Linked DNA regions of Homo sapiens: all the other regions are linked to region 2. The links are contacts of gene promoters, found by promoter capture Hi-C in human tissues and cell types (Jung and others, 2019). All regions are on one chromosome and are shown on one strand. Each heading gives the region's core, a stretch centred on a gene start or on the middle of the fragment in contact. The rest is flanking DNA. Distances are from core to core; before and after follow the strand shown. Region 1 has its middle 40 kb from the start of NIPAL2. Region 2 holds the start of KCNS2 (potassium voltage-gated channel modifier subfamily S member 2). Region 3 overlaps STK3 (serine/threonine kinase 3).

Evidence for each region. Contacts are between HindIII fragments. The study calls those that stand out against the background at their distance.
Region 1: a fragment that was not itself captured here is called in contact with the fragment with the promoter of KCNS2 in region 2 in 2 of the 25 tissues and cell types used here (liver and lymphoblastoid cells).
Region 3: a contact is called between a fragment that was not itself captured here and the fragment with the promoter of KCNS2 in region 2, in 2 of the 25 tissues and cell types used here (H1 embryonic stem cells and adrenal gland).

The regions. Positions count from the first base shown.
Region 1 is chr8:98,331,515-98,336,040 of GRCh38, forward strand. No RefSeq gene overlaps it. Among named protein-coding and RNA genes, the nearest start is that of NIPAL2, 40 kb to the left of the region's middle. The HindIII fragment of the contact is 6,430 bases long and covers 1-4,526 here.
Region 2 is chr8:98,424,946-98,429,304 of GRCh38, forward strand. It overlaps KCNS2 (potassium voltage-gated channel modifier subfamily S member 2), which reads left to right and starts at 2,013. Exons shown (of 2, transcript NM_020697.4): 1 at 2,013-2,384; 2 at 2,993-4,359. The coding sequence starts at 3,035. It also overlaps a transcript of STK3 not described here. RefSeq lists a silencer at 1,913-2,112. The HindIII fragment of the contact is 18,533 bases long and covers 1-4,359 here.
Region 3 is chr8:98,505,031-98,509,110 of GRCh38, forward strand. The region is part of intron 10 of STK3 (serine/threonine kinase 3); the gene reads right to left. Among named protein-coding and RNA genes, the nearest start is that of KCNS2, 80 kb to the left of the region's middle. The HindIII fragment of the contact is 3,985 bases long and covers 1-3,876 here.

The DNA.
Region 1 (4,526 bases), core at 279-2,778, 94 kb before region 2:
GGGAGGCTAGGGCAGGAGGATTTCTTGAGTCCAGGAGTTCGAGGTTGCAGTGAGCTGTGATTGTGCCACTGCACTCCAACTTAAATGACAGAGCAAGACCCTGTCTCAAACAGACAAACAAAACCACAGCAAGAAATGCCATTCAAATGTGGTTTTAGATGCACTGTGGATATGGTCAGCAGGCTTCTGTGTGCTCATGAATCAATCTGAATGGGGCATGAAGAGGGAATATGAACTCAGAAACTTCACGTTGGTTGTGGGTACTCCAAATGTCTTGTTCTCACTCATCTTTCCTCTATCTCATTTAAATTCAAAACCATCATTTCCAAAACAGAAGAGAAAGAGAAAGCGGGGGGCGGAGGGAACAAGAGTGCATATACCCAGATTATCTATCTATCTACCTATCTATCTATCTATCATCTGTCTATCTATTTATTATTGAGACAGGGTCTCACTGTGTTGCCCAGGCTGGTCTTGAACTACTGGGCTCAAGGGATCCTCCTGCCTTGGCCTTCCAAAGTGCTGGGATTACAGGCGTGAGCCACCGCACCTGGCCCCAGATAATCTTAGTATCAAGTTATGTGAGGTTGATATTGCATTGACAAGTCTAGGGTCAAAACATTGACATATTTAAAAACTCATCCTATTTATTCAGCGTGGATCTCAATAGATTTAGGTGGTACCAAGTTCTTGTACAGACCACAATACAGAGGAAGCAATGGGAAATCAACCTCTTTCCTAACCACATAGCTGTTTGCTTTTAACTGGATGATTGAGGCAGCTTCTAACTTTTGTGTCCAAATGATGATTTCCAGTGTTTTGGAAAAGTAATAAGATCCTTCCTGGGGCCAGTTTGGAGCCAGCTCTCAAAATCACAGACTATTGGGCTAAAAAGGCTCCTAAGGACACCAGCACTTGCTGAGTAAACACAGCCTAATGGTCACCATTTTGTTCTCGAGTGTACAGAGAACATGAGTAACCAGGGAGCGTAGAAAGGAAAATAATTTCACAGGGTTGCACAAGTATTACTTATTGCTTTGTTACCCACAGGGGAAGTTCATGGAGTTTAAGACACCATCTTGATCAGGGTGTTCACTCTGCAATCGGTCCTGTGGGGGGTTTTCAACACTGTGCCCAGCTATAGCCTTCAAAATTGTCTTGTAAAAATTCCTGCTGTTCTGACACAATGCAAGAGAAGGTCTCATTCTTGTGTGTTTGCATATTTTGTGCAGGAGATGAGAGCTTACCCTGGCTCGTCTCTCTAACACGGTCTTTGGTGAGGAATATGCCAAAACCTGGGTCACAGTCCTTGCATCACTCTGGAAGGTGCAGACTTCCACAGCATGGTGGCAATTCCTAAGGCCAGCTGCAGAGCTGCTGTCAGAGGCTCTCCCTGTGTGGAGCCAAAGATTTCAAATACTGCACATTTTCTGCTTTGTTTGATTTTTAGGGTAAACACCCTTCTGTGTGTAGGTAAAGGAAAAAAAAAATCAGCCAATTTTATGTCTCACTGACCTAGAAAGGGCAAGCTCTGAAACTTTCATATAACAAAAAGAATCTAGTCTGGAATGAAGTAACTCACTTTTGCAAATATTTGTACTGACAATACAGTCTGTGCATACAATTTTTTTTAGGATACTCAAATATAGGAATTTGAGATGTTTGAAACCTAACAAATAATTCTCACCATATGCCCATTTTTCTTAATCTTATCATAATATTTCAGAATAAATTCGCCAGCTTTCTTACATCCAACTGCCCTGATATAATGAAAAGAGAGCCCTTCTCTCTCTTTTATTTTTGGGGAGTGTTTTTAAATCAAGATTTATATTCAGCATGACATTGCTGACGTGATTCACTCCTCTTGGCTCTCCAGGGTCATAGCCCAACTTCATAACCTCAGCACTAATAACAAAATAAAAAAACTAATAGCAATACTTATTATTTATTGATTAATGTGTATGGACCATCACTTCTGAGAATTTTATATACACCATGTAATTTAATTCTCATGACAATTAGTAAACAAATAAAGCTAACACCAAATGTTTACTATGTGTGAAGGTTAATTTAATGCATCAACTTGACTGGGCCACAGGATGCTCAGACTGGGGCACAGTTAAACATCATTCCAGGGTGTATCTATCTAGGGAGTATTTGCGGAAAGATGAACATTTGAATTGGTAAAGCAGATGGCCCTCCTTAATGTGGGTGGGTCACATCTCATCTGTTGAGGGACTGAATAGAACAAAAAGGAGGAAGATCAAATATGCTCTTGGCCGGGCTGCTTGAGCTGGGACATAGCGCTCTTGGTTCTCAGGCCTTCAGGTCTGGACTGGAAACTACACCACCTGCCCTCCAGCTTTCAGGCCTTCGAATGACACCACCAACTTTCCCAGGTCTCCAGTGTGCAGATGGTCCCTCTTGAGAGTTTTCAGCCTCCATAGAGCCAAAACCATATATAGACATAGCCTGTTGGTTCTGTTTCTCCAGAGAACTCTGATTAATAGACTATGTATCAGACATGATCCTAATCATTTTACATATTAACTCATGAACCTTCATAATCCTCTTTAGTCTTATAAAATAGATTTTTACCCATTTTACCCATTTTAAAGACTACTATGTCCACATTACAGTTGAGGTAGAGATATCATCTGATAGGCTGAGAGAGTCAACAACTTGGCTCAAGTTTTGCACCTAGACTGTTACATTAACCAAAATGGCAACTGTTTCTTCTGTTGCGAATCTACCCTTTTGGGATATCAGAATTATAATCTTCTTTTCCTTCAAGCCTTCAATGGCTTACTGTTGCCTCTGGAGTGAATTCCAAACTTCTTAGTGTAGCATTAGAGGTCCCAACATTTGGCTCCAGCCTCGGTTCCCATCCATTTCTGCTCTCTACTCTGGGCTATGACCACCTTACGTGGGATCTCTCAGCTCCACTGCATTCTTTGGTGCTTATGGGCATGTGCAGGTGCTACTTGGGTCATTTCTCTCCATCCCTGCCTACTGTTACCACCCATTCCTAGGCCCTCATCATTTCTCACCTGAATTACTGCCGCCACCTTTGAACTGGTCTTCCTTCTCCCCTGCAAACCATCCTCTACTCAGTAGCCAGAATGATCTTTCTAAAATGCAAGCCTGAACATGGCATGTCCATGCTTAAGGCTTCTAATAATTTCCCCTTGCCATAAGAATAAAGTCCAGATTCCTTCAAACGGCCCTCATGACCTCGTCCCAGCTTACCTCTCCAGCCTCATCTCTCACTATCCTCCTAAATGGGCCTCTTCATTCTTCAGCCTTTGCATGAAAAGGCCCTTTTGCCTAGAATATTCTGCTTTAGTCTCACATGGACAATGCCTACTCAACCTTTAGTTCTCAGCTGGGATGTCATCTCCCTTAGGACACCATCCTTGACTCACCCCTACAAATGTTTTCCAGGCTGGAAGCATGCGGGGCCATAAAGAGGGCCACACACATCATGCCAGCTACTCATTGTTGCTCTTCTCCCACTGTGTGGTCATGGCCTGGCTCTTGCCAGCTTCTAACACTGGACTCTGCATTCCCTAAATGGCAGGACTGTTATTCACTATTGTTGCCCCAATACCTGCCACACCATAGCAAACTCAATAAATGTCCAGTAAAGAAAGTGACCAAATGAACAAATGAATGAGTATCTGGAATGCCTGCTCTGTCTTCACTTCCTGAAGAAATTTCTGCTTTGCTTCAAAAGTTGGCTCCAACCTCATTCTGCCTCTAAAGCTGTCCTTGTCCCGTCCCCTCTGTGGAATTAACAGTGCCCTTCTCGTCTGGAAAATGTGCTATTAGATAGATAGATAGATAGATAGATAGATAGATAGATAGATAGATAGTATATTTAGCAGGATTACAAATATGGCTCTACAAAATAGTGGCAAGGATTCTATGTTTACCCACTTCAAGCTTAGTCTTTGGTGCAGGGCCTGGCCCTAGTAGGCTGTCAATAAACATTTGTGGAATTGAATACTGTGTTTCACATCACCTGTCCATTCACATCAGCTGAGGCTTTTCATTAGGATTACATCATCACAAATGGAAGAAACTGAAGGATGCAAAGAGAAAAAATTAGGAAAGATGTAGCATTGCGATGAAACAATGTACGATATCCAGAAAGACACCCAGCCTTCTGCTCCTGGGGCTGTCTGCTTCCTCCCTAGGGGAACGTGCGGCACATTGTCTCAAAGCATAGTCTTTCTCCCCTATCTTGTCTCCACTGACTCCTTCACAATGGGTCTGCAGCCCAGCATATGCTTAGCTATTTAGACAGCAAATAATAGTGGGTTTTCCCCCACCATGTTAACATTCAGTGCTAAGCAGTAAGTATATGCAAGTAGGTGGCAAGCCTTGAGTGGCTAAACCTTGGTGTCATTTGATACATCAATCTGGGGCTCAACCATCCCAAGGAGTTTTGTCCTCAGAAGAAGCCAAGTCACCCCTTCACCCTGACTCTGTTTAGTCCAGTCCACATCTTTGGTTCAGCTGGA
Region 2 (4,359 bases), core at 763-3,262:
AGCCACAGGGCCCATGAAGGCTGTCCCGTAGGTGCTGCTGCTCAGGCCCCTGCAGCAGAGACACCTTGCAGCCACCATCACCCCGCCGAAGGTGTGGAAGGGGGGATTGGAAAAGGGTGAAAGAGGCACTGACACAGGGATTATAAATGCACTGAAGCACACACCCCCTCAGCAAGGGTGGCACTCTCTCCACAGCACCCCCATGGGGATGAAGGAGATCCAGGGGCTCCCAGACTGCAGCCAGGTGTGTGGGAGCCACAGACCTCCAATGATGGACCCAGCAGACCTAGATAGAGGCTGCTGTCCACACACAGACCCTGAAAGAAAGGGAGATGAAGACAAGGATAACCAAGATCAGATTTTTCTCCGTCTCTCCCTCTCAGACACACACACACACACACACACACAAACACACTGGGAAATAAAGGGTGGCTTGTGTGTGTTTGAGGGTAGGGCAGAATGGAGGACTGGATTCCTCTTTTAGGGACCTGAAGAAAAGTTTCCCAAAGCCTGGGGAAAGGTCATACACAAGAAAGAGGAAGTGTGTGTGGCCCTCACTACCCTACTATCCCTCTCCCATGTGGCTGCCTCTGTGGAATCCACCACATTTGCAGAGGCCTGCAGGGGCATGGGTGTGAAGCCCTCTCAGCAGGAAACACACCTGCATTCACACCCACACACATGTCCAGAAGCCAGTGGGTCACAGGGATGGGTCAGACTTGGATGCAGGAGCCCCCATTCGAAGCCAGATTAACGGTCCTCTACAGGTCCTCCAAGGAGGCCCCAAGCCCTCCAGAGCTACACAGAGCACCTTTTCAGCTGGGACGGCATTGCCAGGATTGCGTAAAGAAAGAATGTACTTCCCACTGTGGCAGTGGTGGTTGCACCATGAATCCAGAGCCACCCTGCAAGGGCATTCCCAGGACTTCTGACCGAGACATGTAGACGCTAGCTCCCTGCTAAGCTCACACAACCACGGTGCTCCAGTCTTTGCAAGTGGACACCACAGAGAAACACCAAAGGGAGGGGGCTCCCCAGGGACTGGGTCCATTTCTCAGCTCAGCCCAGTAGGCAGGGCCTTAAGGACAATCCCAGCAGACCAAGAGCTCAGATCTGGGCCACGAGTCTTCTTAGGAATAGGGACACAGATCCTGAGCACATCTACCAGTCCCCACTCCAGCTTGAACCCCCCAGTCCCCACTGTCGGCAAGCACACCGCTCTCAACATATTCCACACACATGAGCCCGTCACAGTCCCAAGAGTACTACACTGTACACAGCACATGTACACACAGCACACGGTTCCCCATGCCACACACTGCGCTGACACACGTCCCAGGTCCCCCCTGTGCCGACGCATCTTCCCATCCGACAGAGGACCCATTTTAATGAACGCGGTACACACAGACACTGAAAAGTCCTGCTGTCCTCAGCCTACATACACACACAGCGCCCTGCAGTCCCGCACAGCCAGCACACCACACCGGCCTGGACACAAACTGTGCCCACACAGAGCTCCCGACCAGAACTCAGCGACTCCCGCCCCCGCCGTGCGGCCTGCGCTCCCGCCCCCCGCGTACTAAGCCGATCTCCACCTTGGACTTCCCGGCCCCCTCTTTTCCCCTCCAGCTCCTGTTCCCCAACAACCCCACCCCCGGGCTTCGGGAAACTTTTCTTCAGGTCCCTAAAAGGGGACACCTGGAGTTCCTCCGGTCCCGCCCTGTCCCCGGACACGCGCAAGCCGCCCTTTATTTCCCAGCCCAGCTCCCGCCAGACCCAGCGGGGAAAGGTCACCGTAGGCAGCCCCCTGCCTGCGCCCTGGGGGTGGTGATAATAACAGCTGTCACCGGGGGATGGTCGGGGGGAAGGGAGAGGTGTCGGCCCCGCGCCGAGCCGGGGGCGCAAGGTGGTCGCGGTGACGCGCCGGGGAAGCGCAGAGAAGCAGCGGCGGCGGCGGCTGCGCCTTCCGAGCCCGGGCGGCGGCCGAGGCACGCGGAGCTGTCCGTTCAGCACCACCGCGCCGCGCCCCGCGCAGGGCGGGCGCCCCGTCACACCCGCTCTGCTCCCGCCCCGGCTCACGGGGCGAATGCGGCGCGGGTTCCTGCCTCTCTGGGTGGGTGAGGGGCGCGCGGATCCGGAGAGGGGGCTCCGGGAGCGGCGGGACCACGCAGCCACCTGTGAGCCTTCGGCAGCTGCGGGCGGCGGCGGCGTACCCGGCCCGAGACGGGAGGAGACGCTCGGCGGCCCCCGCCCGCCGGCCCGCCGGGCGCACACACTCGCACCCGCGCACGCACCGCCAGCAGGCAGCGGCCACCGCCGCGATGCTCGCCCGCGGGTTGGGGAAGTTTCCCGCCGGCCTCGGCCGCGGGCACCCGTGCTCCCAGGTAAGCGCTTCCAGAACGCGCAGGGCGAGCCCGGGCAGCCCCGCTGGGTGAGGCGCAGCGCACGCGGCCCCGGGGCATAGCGCCAGGCCGGCAGGGAGACCTGGGCCGGGGACGCGGGGGCTGCAGGCGTGGGATCTGGACCCAGGGGAGGCCGGGCCGCCCCCCTCATTCCCGCGGCCCGGGTTTCCAGACTCCAGCGCATCCCCCCCACCCCACCAAAGCTACGCGCCCCCCGTGTCGGCCCGGCCCTGCCCGTGCGTATCTCAGCTCCGGTCCCGCCTGTCTGCGGCGAGCGGGCGGGGGCGTCTCCCGGGCCTGCCCATGGACAAGGTCAGCATGCAGCCCCCTGGGCGCTCAGAGCCGCGGGGACGCGACCCCGCACGCGCAAAGCGCCCACCGAGACCCCTGGGGTGGAGCTGTGCTAATAGAAACATACCCACCCCCAGCCTTTCCTGGGAGGGGATCAGACCCCTCAAACTCTTGCCCCAGCCCAGCCCTTCAGCACCCAAGACCCACCAGGAGGCCTGGGCCCGCCAGTAATGGGTAGGGAGAGGGGGCCCCGCCAGGGCGCACGGCGCTCTCGCCGACGCTGTTCCCTCCGCTTCCAGGTGTAGCGCCCCCGCGCGGCGCGGGCGGCCGGCGCCTCCAGCATGACCGGCCAGAGCCTGTGGGACGTGTCGGAGGCTAACGTCGAGGACGGGGAGATCCGCATCAATGTGGGCGGCTTCAAGAGGAGGCTGCGCTCGCACACGCTGCTGCGCTTCCCCGAGACGCGCCTGGGCCGCTTGCTGCTCTGCCACTCGCGCGAGGCCATTCTGGAGCTCTGCGATGACTACGACGACGTCCAGCGGGAGTTCTACTTCGACCGCAACCCTGAGCTCTTCCCCTACGTGCTGCATTTCTATCACACCGGCAAGCTTCACGTCATGGCTGAGCTATGTGTCTTCTCCTTCAGCCAGGAGATCGAGTACTGGGGCATCAACGAGTTCTTCATTGACTCCTGCTGCAGCTACAGCTACCATGGCCGCAAAGTAGAGCCCGAGCAGGAGAAGTGGGACGAGCAGAGTGACCAGGAGAGCACCACGTCTTCCTTCGATGAGATCCTTGCCTTCTACAACGACGCCTCCAAGTTCGATGGGCAGCCCCTCGGCAACTTCCGCAGGCAGCTGTGGCTGGCGCTGGACAACCCCGGCTACTCAGTGCTGAGCAGGGTCTTCAGCATCCTGTCCATCCTGGTGGTGATGGGGTCCATCATCACCATGTGCCTCAATAGCCTGCCCGATTTCCAAATCCCTGACAGCCAGGGCAACCCTGGCGAGGACCCTAGGTTCGAAATCGTGGAGCACTTTGGCATTGCCTGGTTCACATTTGAGCTGGTGGCCAGGTTTGCTGTGGCCCCTGACTTCCTCAAGTTCTTCAAGAATGCCCTAAACCTTATTGACCTCATGTCCATCGTCCCCTTTTACATCACTCTGGTGGTGAACCTGGTGGTGGAGAGCACACCTACTTTAGCCAACTTGGGCAGGGTGGCCCAGGTCCTGAGGCTGATGCGGATCTTCCGCATCTTAAAGCTGGCCAGGCACTCCACTGGCCTCCGCTCCCTGGGGGCCACTTTGAAATACAGCTACAAAGAAGTAGGGCTGCTCTTGCTCTACCTCTCCGTGGGGATTTCCATCTTCTCCGTGGTGGCCTACACCATTGAAAAGGAGGAGAACGAGGGCCTGGCCACCATCCCTGCCTGCTGGTGGTGGGCTACCGTCAGTATGACCACAGTGGGGTACGGGGATGTGGTCCCAGGGACCACGGCAGGAAAGCTGACTGCCTCTGCCTGCATCTTGGCAGGCATCCTCGTGGTGGTCCTGCCCATCACCTTGATCTTCAATAAGTTCTCCCACTTTTACCGGCGCCAAAAGCAACTTGAGAGTGCCATGCGCAGCTGTGACTTTGGAGATGGAATGAAGGAGGTCCCTTCGGT
Region 3 (4,080 bases), core at 634-3,133, 80 kb after region 2:
CAAATGTAGATTTGGTCTTTTCACATAGTCCCATGTTTCTTGGAGGTTTTGTTCATTTATTTTTACTCTTTTTTCTCTAACCTTGTCCTCTCACTTTATTTCATTAATTTGATCTTCAGTCACTGATACCCTTTCTTCCACTTGATCGAATAGGCTATTGAAGCTTGTGCATGTGTCACGTAGTTCTCCTGCCATGGTTTTCAGTTCCATCAGGTCATTTAAGGTCTTCTCTACATGTTTATTCTAGTTAGCCATTAGTCTAATCTTTTTTCAACGCTTTTAGCTTCCTTGCAATGGGTTCGAACATCCTCCTTTAGCTCAGAGAAGTTTGTTATTACCAACCTTCTGAAGCCTACTTCTGTCAGCTCATCAAAGTCATTCTCTGTCCAGTTTTGTTCCATTGCTGGTGAGGAGCTGCCATCCTTTTGGGGAGAAGAGGTGCTCTTGTTTTTAGGATTTTCAGCTTTCTGCTCTGGTTTCTCCTTATCTTTGTGGTTTTTATCTACCTTTTGTCTTTGATGCTGGTGACCTACCGATGGGGTTTTGGTGTAGATGACCTTTATGTTGATGTTGATGCTATTCCTTTCTGTTTGTTAGTTTTCCTTCTAAGAATCAGGTCCCTCAGCTGCAGGTCTGTTGGAGTCTGCTGGAGGACCACTCCAGACTCTGTTTGCCTGGGTATCACCAGTGGAGGCTGCAGAACAGCAAATATTGCTGCCTGATCCTTCCTCTAGAAGCTTCATCCCAGAGGGGCATCTGGCTGTGTGAGGTGTCAGTTGGCCCCTACTGGGAGGTGTCTCCCAGTTAGGCTACACAGGGGTCAGGGACCCACTTGAGGAGGCAGTCTGTCTGTTCTCAGAGCTCGAACACCATGCTGGGAGAACCACTACTCTCTTCAGAGCTGTCAGACAAGGACGTTTAAGTCTGCAGAAGTTTCTGCTGCCTTTTGTTCAGCTATGCCCTGCCCCCAGAGGTGGGGTCTATAGAGTCAGCAGGCCTTGCAGAGCTGCAGTGGGCTCCACCCAGTTTGAGCTTCCCAGGCTGCTTTGTTTACCTACTCAAGCCTCAGCAATGGCGGATGCCCCTCCCCCTGCCAGGTTGCTGCCTTGCAGGTTGATCTCAGACTGCTGCACTAGCAGTGAGCAAGGCTCCGTGGGCATGAGACCCGCCAAGCCAGGCATGGGATATAATCTCCTGGTGTGCCTTCTGCTAAGACCACTGGAAAATCACAGTATTTAGGTGGAGGCATCCCGTTTTTCCAGGTACAGTCTGTCACGGCTTCCCTTGGCTAGGAAAGGGAAATCCCCTGACCCCTTGTGCTTCCTGGGTGAGGTGATGCCCTGCCCTGCTTCAGCTTGCCCTCCGTGGGCTGCACCCACTGTCCAACCAGTCCCAGTGAGATGAACCAGGTACCTCAATTGGAAATGCAGAAATCACCGTCTTCTGCGTCAATCACACTGGGAGCTGCAGACCGGAGCTGTTCCTATTTGGCCATCTTGGAATGGAATCCATGTCTCTACTAATAATAAAATTAGCCAGGTGAAGTGGCAGATGCCCATAATCCCAGCTACTTGGGAGGCTGAGGCAAGAGAACTGCTTGAACCCAGGAGGCAGAGGTTGCAGTGAGCTGAGATTGCACCACACTGCACTCCAGCCTAGGCGACAGAGCAAGACTCCATCAAAAGAAAAAAAAAAGAAAGAAAATGGAGAAAGAACCAAAGACTCAACGAATGCAGCTCCAGATACTGAAAAGTAAAAGAGATTCTCTGCTAGAGTATTTGGAGGGATTGTAGCCCTGCTGATAGCATGATTTAGCCTCATAACACTTAGTTCAAATTTCCCCAGAGAAGGTGTGGCCCTGCTACAACTCAGGTTTAGCCCCGTTAAGATTTAGTTTGGATTCCTGGCTCCAGAACTGTAAAACAACACATTTCTACTGTTTTAAGCCACTCAATTTGTGGTAATTTGTTACAGCAGCCATGGGAAATGAATACAGACCCCTTCCCTTCTCTACATATACTCATTTCTTTGTTACAGCAGCCATGGGAAATGAATACAGACCCCTTTTCTTCTCTATATATACTCATTTCTTTGGAGAGTCCTTTGAAGATCCCATTCAGTCTCATGGTTTTAAATACCATCTATATACTGATTACCACAAATTCCAGCCTAGAACTCTCCCTTGAACTCCCAATTTGGACACACAATCGTATATTTGGTATGCCCACCTGGATGCAGAAGAACTTCCCAGCCAACAAGTTCCACCCACAGTCTTCCCCAGTTCAGTTATAGGCAACACCATCCTGGCTGTTCAAACAAAAAACCTTGGAATTATCCCGGATCTTTCATTCTCATATTCAGTCAGTTATACAATTTTGTTGCCTATATATTAAAAAGTTATCAGGAACCTGACCAGTTCTTACTGTCTCTGGTGCTCTTTGCCCGGATGACTGCTTCTACCCTTGCCCCACTCAATCAATTCTGAAATGTGGTCAGAGTAAACTTTTTAAAGTCAGTCAGTTAGAGATCAAGTTATTTCTCTATGGCTACATATTTCTTTTAGAACAAATGCCCAAATCTTTACAATACCTTCAGAAGCCTACCATCTGGTGCACCCTACCACTTCCCTATCCTGCTCTCCAACTTCATCTTCTTATGTTCTGGCCCTCACTCATTCAGCTGCCCAAAATCAATGTATCACTTTAGTGTTCCCCCAACACACCAAAGGAAGCTTCCACTTCAGAGTCTTTGCTGGTCCCTCTACTTGGAATGTTCTTCCTTCAGATATCCGGATGGCTCACTCCCTGCTTGGTCCTTTACCTCCTTCAAGTCTTTATTCAATTGTCACTTTCTCAATGAAGCCTTCTCCAACCATTCTACTCAATATTGCAAGCCCTTTACCCCAACACCGGCCTCATTACCTTACGTGGTTCTTTTTTCTCTCCAAAGTACTTATCGTCTTTTAGCAAACTGTATACTTTACTAATTTATTATGGTTATTGACTGTTTTCTCCATTACAGTATATGCTTTGTGAAGGTAGAGATTTTTGTCTGGTTTATTTGTTGCTATATCATGAATATCTAGAACAGTGCCAGGCATGTATTACATATAACTGATTTCTAGTATATAGGAAGTAGACTGCACTACCCTAGTATTTAAGGTCCTGATGAATCCATTACAAATATTTTATTTCAGACTTCAAGTTTTTATCTATACTGCTTCAGGAAACACTTTATGTTAACTATTATCATAGGTGGCAAATTCCTAAGTTACAGCAATATTACAGTCACCCTGCTGTAATAATCACCTATCTACTAGAAAGGTAGAAGGAATAGTTGTGGCTCATATTGTATGATTCTACTTACACAAAATGTCAAGACAGGCAAATCCACAGAGACAAGAAGTAGACCAGTGGCTGCCTAGGACTAGAAAAAGAAAAGGGTGTTGGGAGGAAATGGGAAGTGACTACTAGTGGGTACAGGGTTTCTTTTTGGGATAATGATGAAAATATTCTGAAATGGATTATAGTGCCAGCTACAAAACTGTATATGTACTAAACAACCATTGAATTACATACTTTAAATGGGTGAGTTATATGGTGTGTGAATTATATCTCAATAAAGTTTTTATTAAAAATTTTTATGTGGCTGTGGCTGGTTATGTTTTGGATTGCTTAAGAAATAAAACAATTTTGGGGAAAATTATGGGAAAACAAATTTAAAATAAAGTTCTTAACAATTTAGGACTAACAATTACTATCACAATTTGACAGTAATTAATTAAAGTAAGCAAAATTATTAGGATTCTAAAAACTTTCAAATAAATATTTTAACTGCATAGCCTTGTTCTATTTAATGACACAAAAGATTTAGGAAAGGTCAAGGTAAGAACTAATGATGTATTCTTACATACCTTATAAATTGAGTAAACAAAAACTCAGGGAAACTCATCTAAAAAAATAAAAAGGTTTTCAAAACTCGACCCACATTTGCCCAATCAGGTACTAACTAGTCTTTCCCCAACCATCTTTTTTTTTCATCTGAAAAGTTTAATGATCTAACCTGCTAGAGATTCAGCAT